Linked DNA regions of Homo sapiens: region 2 is linked to region 1. Evidence: promoter capture Hi-C in 16 types of primary human blood cells and fetal thymus (Javierre and others, 2016). All regions are on one chromosome and are shown on one strand. The core of a region is centred on a gene start or on the middle of the fragment in contact, and the rest is flanking DNA. Distances in the headings are between cores, read along the strand shown.

Evidence for each region. Contacts are between HindIII fragments. The CHiCAGO score rates a contact against its expected background, and 5 or more counts as called.
Region 2: a contact is called between a fragment that was not itself captured here and the fragment with the promoter of ROPN1 in region 1, in 5 of 17 cell types (fetal thymus, endothelial precursors, neutrophils and 2 more). The highest score is 14.8, in fetal thymus.

The regions. Positions count from the first base shown.
Region 1 is chr3:123,989,489-123,993,533 of GRCh38, reverse strand. It overlaps ROPN1 (rhophilin associated tail protein 1), which reads left to right and starts at 1,410. Exons shown (of 6, transcript NM_001317774.2): 1 at 1,410-1,612. RefSeq lists an enhancer at 1,122-1,638. The HindIII fragment of the contact is 3,137 bases long and covers 17-3,153 here.
Region 2 is chr3:125,953,264-125,957,318 of GRCh38, reverse strand. It overlaps the pseudogene ALG1L1P. Among named protein-coding and RNA genes, the nearest start is that of ROPN1B, 14 kb to the left of the region's middle. The HindIII fragment of the contact is 2,102 bases long and covers 1,075-3,176 here.

The DNA.
Region 1 (4,045 bases), core at 161-2,660:
ACAAACAGAGAAAGCTTTGAAGGGCCTGGGTGAACTAATCTATTTAGACTAATACACACTGTTGTATAAATGGAATGAAGGATTAGATGATGCAATGGGCCCCTTTAAAATAGGTGTGAAGTGACACGGGATGTAGCAGAGAAAGATGGGGCTTTTCTTGCCTCCTTGGGTGCTTAAAACGAACAGTCTTGAGACCAGGTGCGGTAGCTCAAACCTGTAATCCCAATACTTTGGGAGACCAAGGCAGGTGGATCACTTGAGCCCAGGGATTCAAGACCAGCCTGGGCAACATGGCAAAACCCCGTTTATAAAAATATAAAAATTAGCCTGTCATCGTGGCAAGCACCTGCAGTCTCAGCTACTTGGGAGGCTGAGGTGGGAGGATTGCTTAGACCTAGGAGATTGAGGCTGCAGTGAGTCATGATTACCCCATTGCACTCCAGCCTGGGCAACAGAGCAAGACCCTGTCTCAAAACACACACACACACACACACACACACACACACACACACACACACACACACACAGTCTTGAAACCGGAAGACCTGGAGTAAAGTTGGGCCCTGAGCCCTACTGCCAGCTGTTCGATCACAGGCAAAATTACTCGAAGCCTTGAGCCTGTTTTTTATTTCCAAAGCGAAGGTAATACCTACCTTCAGAGTTTACTGTGAAACTTTGATGTCATCATGTTTGTAAAAGTGCCCTGGCACAGTGACCACATTCTACCCTATAAATATTTTCTATCTTTCCCTGTTGTCCCCAGGCATCTCAGGCTCTGTTCCTATCCACTCCATGCCCCTTTCTTAGCATTATAAGGTCAAGAGTGAGGAATCTGGGACCACGCAACCCAGATTCAGATCCTGACTCTGTCACTTGCTGACTGTCATCTTGGACAAGTTTAACCTCTCTGTGCTCAGTTCCCTCATCTGTAAAAATGGGGATAACAATAGTACTTGCCTCATGGGGTGACAGTAAGGATGAAATGAGTTCATGTGTGTAATGCACTTAGAACAATTCCTGGCACCAAAAACTCATTGTAAGAAGTGTTGTTACTATGATTCCTGAGGAATTCTCACCTGTCCACTTTCCACAAGCCGAAAGATCAAGCTCCACTTCTGCCCTCTCACCTACAAAAGCGCACCGTCAATGGCTACACATTCCGCCCCACCCCCAACGCCCCCAGCCCGGGTTTCCTAACGTCCCCAGCCCAGTCCTTAACCCTCCAGGCCGTCTGGTCCTTCCACCACCAGCAAAGCCCAAAACAGCTTTCAGCGTCCCCTAGCAGCGCCCTAGCGGGACCCTGGGAACCCGCCGCTGCAGGAGAGGCGGGGCGGCTCTGTGACGTCGCGCCCGGCGCTACCCCTGGTGACCTGGCAGCGGAGCCCGCGCAGGGTTTGCCAGGCGAAGGCGGAGCGCTAACGTCTAACGCTAACGGCGGTCGTGCCCCGCCGCTGCTGTCACCCCCGGCCGCTGCTGCCCTCCCCGCCGAGGTTCTACTGCTCTCCTTCTTAAGAAGGGTGGGAGGCACTCGGTCTCTCCCCACACCTCTCGCCTGAGGCCAGGCGCCAGGTGTCGCCTGAAGCCAGACAGCCGGTTTGGGAGCGAGCCTGAGGTAGCCACCCCGAGGGGAAGTGGAGGGAGGGCAGGGCTCTGAGCGCCCCGAGGGCTGCGCTGGTCTGAGGGAGGAGCCCTGCCGGACGCCCCCTGGATTCTGAGCCTCTCCTTGTTCACAGGGCAAGGGGAAGGCAAGGGGATCTTCAAGAGAATGTGACTGTGGGGGATTATGGCTTTCTGGCCAATTTGTGTGCGTATTTTGTACCCAGAATACTATTATACGGTTTCTTACCCGGAGGACAGTGGTTGGGAGGCTCAAGAGTTTGGAATCAGAGCCCTCCACCGAGGAGCCACACCTCTGCTTTTTCATCAGCGACAGGGATATAAAAATACCTCTGGGTGAATTGTCATGTGGATGTCATGGGCATACCTAGCACTTCATAGACTCCTATCACACATTATTTTATACCTAGCACTTCATAGACTCCTGTCAGGCATTATTTTATACCTGGCACTTCATAGACTCCTATCACATATTATTTTATACCTAGCACTTCATAGACTCCTATCACGCATTATTTTATACCTAGCACTTCATAGACTCCTATCACGTGTTCATTTTATAGCTAGCACTTCATAGACTGCTATCACGCATTCATTTTTACTAGTACCTATTGAACACTAAGTTCCAGGCACTGGGCTAGGCACTGGGATGGTGTGGTGAGCAAAAACTGACCAGTCCTGCCGTGGAGTTTGCTGGGGGAGACACATGTTACTCAAAGAATCACACTAAGGATAGGTAAGTGATGCTCTGGAAGGGTATGTACAATGGAACTGACAGGGTAATCAGGGAAGGTTAAGCAGACCTCCAAAGGAAGAATCAACCTGTTAAGAGGAGGAGAATGTATTCCAAACAAGAGTAACCACATCCCAAACCCACCATCTCCAATTCCAAACCCAAACAGGGATGTGCAGTTGCCTGTGCTTGGTTCCAAGTGATACTCATAGAAACCCTCTGAGATTCTGCCCTGGAGCCTTTCATTCATGTTACTGGAGACTTTCATTTATGAAACGGAAGCCCTGTTTAGCCCATACCAATAAAACCAAGTGAGAGATCCCTGAAACAAGGCTATAGTCTATTTTAAGACCTACATTCTTCAGCACTTGGCAGGTATATGTTGGCCTCCATTTTACATTGAGAGGCATGTAGGTTTCACTTAGGAGGAAATGCATTGAATTGAAAGAGTTGGGGTTATGGATAAGCTCTGGAATGTATAATTGAAGAAGACCTACACTATCAAGAGATTTAAAAATGGAAAATAACTTTACAAAATGTTAGAATTGAGGAATGTTAAGATAGAATGGACCTTTCTCCCACTTCTTTGATGTGAACAAATGACCCTTATTGCCCAAAGGCAGGAAAGCTGGGCTTTGGTGCCTCTTCAACTCAGAGAGTCTATGATTTCAACTCTGTGATTCAAAAGTGCATGGAACTCCTGAAAGTAAATGGGAACATGGGGGGATAATTTGACCTGACCCTCCTTTAGTGTTTTCTATTTCTACAAGGGTACCACCACTGTGCACCCAGTCATCCAAGCTTGAAAACTGATAGTCACTCTAGACTTTTCTGTCCTTCACCTCTTCCTCCTTCTCCACCTTCTCTTCTTCCTCCTCCTCCACCTCCTCTTTTCTTCCTCCTCCTCCTCCTTCAGTAGTTACCAAATCCTGTAGATCCTATCTCCTAAATACTTGTCTCTTATATCACTCCCTATTGCAACTACTTTTCAAGGCAGTGAAGCTCCTGGGAGTTGTCAAAAGTGCTGCCATATTCTCCTAACCTGGCTCCCTGCCTGAAGCTTCACCATCCTCTCTTCAGCTCATCCACACAGCTGTCAGTCAACGTGTTTCAGAGTCCAACAAAGAGAAATAAATCATATAGTAATTTTTTGAGCATATAATTTAACAAGAGAAGTTCAATATAAAGAATTGTTAATGATGGGATTGGAGTAATGAAGGATTGGCTAATATGTCAGGAGAGATCTAAAATATACAGGAATCACAGATATAAGGGGCAACCACTACCCCTGAGATAGATCACCCAAGGAAGAAACCTTTCCCAGAGCTTGGTGCATAGGGGATGGCCACAGCTGACTGGAGAGCAGAGAAATTGCTGAGGTGCCAGGCAGGCAAAATTTACTCTCTGAAACACCAGAGAAGCCATTCACTAAAAGGTAACTCACTGACAGCACTCTGCTATAGAGCTTCCCAAGAGAGGTGCCAGGGGACACTGCTAGCCATGGAGCACTGATAGCCACTGTGTACTCCAGCAGTTGGGCACTCAAAAGATCACACACTGCATGAAACAGATGCTAGAAAAGCTGTGTGCTACAGGATCCCAGCATAGGAGAAACTACAAGTTCCTGGAGCCTAGCAAGAAGAGCATACCTAAATTCCTAAGAGAAACCTCTTCCTCCTCCAGTCCTTCCAGTGC
Region 2 (4,055 bases), core at 876-3,375, 2.0 Mb before region 1:
AGCACTGTTCACAATAGCAAAGACTTAGAACCAACGCAAATGCCCATCAATGATAGACTGGTAAAGAAAATGTGGCACATATACTTCATGGAATACTATGCAGCCATAAAAAAGGACAAGTTCATGTCCTTTGCAGGGACGTGGATGAAGCTGGAAACCATCATTCTCAGCAAACTAACACAAGAACAGAAAACCAATCATAAGTGGGAGTTGAACAATGAGAATGGACACAGGGAGGGGAACATCACACACCGGGGCCTATTGTGGGGTGGGGGGCTAGGGGAGGGATAGCATTCGGAGAAATACCTAATGTAGATGACAGGTCGATGGGTGCAGCAAATCACCATGGCACATGTATACCTATGTGACAAACCTGCACATTCTGCACATGTACCCTAGAACCTAAAGTATAATAATAATTTTTTTAAAAGTTGTTTCTTCTGCTCTCTGCCAAATATGTCTCCATCTGCCTAATTCTACTGTGAGGGTCTCTGTTTTATCTCATGGCTCTGGTTATTTTCATGCCAAAAATCTACACCCAAAGTCTGTTTCCTCTTTACCAGAATGATGAAGAAGATGATTAGAGAGGAATAGTAGACATTTTGGTTCATAATCCACCTTGATGATTTCATGGAAGGGCGTAGAAAATACGAAGCTGAAATATAGGCTAAGTGACCAGGGCCATGTTGTGATTTTTGTGGGCAGTAGGCGCTTTTGCCTTCTTGGACCTTTTCCTCCATTAAAAAAATGAAAAATCATATTTTATGACTGTTTTGGAATAATGACAAACACATGAATATAATATGTTAAAACATCTTGTGTACCCCTAACAGTATTTTGGTCCCTAGCTACTGTGTCTCCTGTGCCTAATGAATGAGTTGGCCCTGTTTGCAAGCAATGGGAAAAGAATGTAGCTTAACTCCTTTCTCAGAGTCTGAAGATACCAAGGTTCCAATATGTTCTGAATGATGGCTGAGTTGGGAGGTTATAATCATAAATAAGGCAAATTCCTGTTCTTCCTCTGAGAGGCTTTGGGGGGCTTTGGAGGGGTTGGCAGCTATGGACCACAAAGCTTGGGCACCTCCCAAACATGGGCTGCTCATCTCTTCACCTTGTCCTAGAGTGACATCACCTTCTCCATATGTGACAGATAGTGTTACAGTCTCTACTCTAGGAGGTCCAGAGTGACTGTCCCCATTCCATAGATGGGGAGCCTCAAGCATGGTGAGATGAGCCTGGGTAGCTTGCTCTTCTGCCTTGATTCAGATTCTAATGCCTTGCTGCTTTCTTGGCAGCAGGAAGGAAACATCTTTAAAATATTTTTTTTCTGACTGTGAAAGTGACACTGGTTTATTATGAAATTTTGAAAAATATAAGAAATTGAGAGATTTTTAAAAAACAACAACTCCCTTGATCCTTCCTCCCAGAGCCAACTACTGCCAACTGCCTCATGAGGTTGTATAAATGGGTGCACCATACCATGGGTGGGATAGGACTATTTGACTTCCCGGGAGCCAGCCCAGGAGTTCCTGTCATTGCTGCTATTTCTGCCTGATGGCACCTCAACTGTAAAATGGCTGGATTTTATAATATCCTCCCCTCAAATGCTTACAAGCTACAATGTTAACTGGAAAAGGCAGATTGCAAAATGTTTATACAGTATGATCTCAATTATGGAGAAACATGCATAAAAAATTGAGGAAGGTAATAGATAATTATATCAACAGTGGTATTAGCTGTCCCTCAGCCATGGGAGCTCCTGTATGGGTGAGGAACAGCTTTTTGGGGAGATGGTAGTTTTCCAGCACCACATAACATCCCCCAGAAGGCAATTTTCTCATTTTCCTTTGAATAAAATTCCTCCTGTTTTCACTCCTTAGAAGAGGGCAAGAGGAACTGTGATGCCTCCATGCCTGAACCTCAGACCTTTGGAGGTTGTTGTCCTCTTTCATCTCCTCTTCCCTGTGCCCACCCATGAAGCAGCAGCTTCTGCAGACTCCTATTTGTATTCGAGGCTAGCAGTGGGTTTTCCCAGCCATCCTCTGGGGAATATGAATCTATTCTCTACATAAAAGCAAAGATACAATTAAAGCTATGCATCAGAGAGCAATGAAGGGAACTAACAACTCCACATTACCATGGAGAGGATGCTATAGAACAAGGTCAGTTTCTGCTAGGAGACTTTTTCTTACTATTGCCACAAATGCAGAAGAACAGCTCCTGGTGCCTCTGCAGCCACTCAAGCCTGGCTTATCCGAGAGTGACGGGCATCTGCAGACAAAATATTTTGTCTTCCTCAGCAGCTTGATCCAGTGTTTTACCATGTTTCCCTTAGCTCATACCTACATCTTGCCTAGTAAAGTCATCATCCCATGTCTGTTTTCCCTGATGAAGACAAGACAGAGAACATTGGCCTGTGCATCTCCACAGGATAACCTTCCAAAACTTGATGCTGGGTTGCTTCTAAAGTGTCTATATCAAGCCCTGAATATTAGCATACTACCAGATTAAGGAACTTTGAGTCTAAATGGTACATTCAATAATTTAATTCAACAACTATTTGTTTGAACATCTACTATGTGCTAAGCAGGAAAGAAATAGTCAAGGGGAACACAGTCTGCACCAGAAGTCATCAGCATGTGCTACATCAGATGCCGTGTTCAAAGATCCCACGTCCTCTTTTGGTTTTTAAAGTGAGCTTTGAAGTCAGATAAACTTGGGTCTAATTCATTTTTTGCCACTTACTTCTTCTGTTACCTAGGCTAAGCTACACAACTTGCATGAGTCTCAGTTTTGTTGCCTATAAAGTGGGGGATAATAATACCTATTTCACAAGTTGTAGAATAAATAAAATTATTTAAGCAAAGCACAATTCCTAAAGTGGAAGTTACTCTGCAAATGTTGCTCCTTCCGTCAGGTTTTATGATTTGGTGATGAGGACATCAGAGATATTGAATGTCATATAAAATTGGTTTTTAATTTGAAAATGTAAATTTTTACATGTATTTTTTATTTTGTGGATTAACTATAATTCCAAATTGGCTTCCCACAAACTCAGGTTATGACTTATCATTTAATATGCTAGTATTCATTTGTTTATCCAACAAATATTTAAATATCTTTTGTGGCACAGTCAATGTATGTGTGGGGAATAAAAACTGCCTTTGATATAAGCTTAGTCCAGACATGATCAGGAAAGGAAATCTACCATGAAGAAAATCCTGTATGGAAGGCATTTTCAGGACAGTAGAAGATGGGTTCAGAGAAGCAGGGCTACCAGCAGAGACACTCCTCAAATGCTAGCAGAAAAAACCCTAACAAATGCCTGACTGCAGAAGAATCCTGGGAGCCTGGATTTGCCTCTCATTCTTGAATTGCATTTATTCTGGGAACTAAGCAGAGTGCTGTGTCAATCTGCTATGAGGGAGGCAGAATTATAAACAGAATATGTGCTAGAAATAGAAAATGAGACGAAAGATGGCATTTTGGGGCTTTCACGACTTCCCCCAGCCCCCCGCCCTCCTTCAGCAGAGGGAGAAGTCATCCAGTTTTGGTGAAGGCAAAAAATTCAAAAGCCATCATTCCAAGAGCAGTGGAAGGAAGGGAGGAAGTAGAAAGTATGAAAGTGGTGAAAAGTATAGAAGTGGGAAGAGTTGAGTGAGATGTGAATAGAGGGGTGGGAGGGTAAGCTGGCCTCCCGGGCAGATGAGAGGAAACCAAAGAGAAAAGCCCAGGGCTAGGACACAGAATGAAGATTTACCCAGCTGGAGAGAAACTTGAAATAACAAGATAGTAACAACACATGGCCAGACAGGGATTGTGTTGGAAAAGAATTAAAAAGCTTAAACCCGGCTGGGTGCAGTGGCTCACGCCTGTAATCCCAGCACTTTGGGAGGCCGAGGCGGGTGGATCACGAGGTCAGGAGATCGAGAGCATCCTGGATAACACGGTGAAACCCCGTCTCTACTAAAAATACAAAAAAATAGCCGGGCATGGTGGCAGGCACCTGTAGTCCCAGCTACTCAGGAGGCTGAGGCAGGAGAATGGCGTGAACC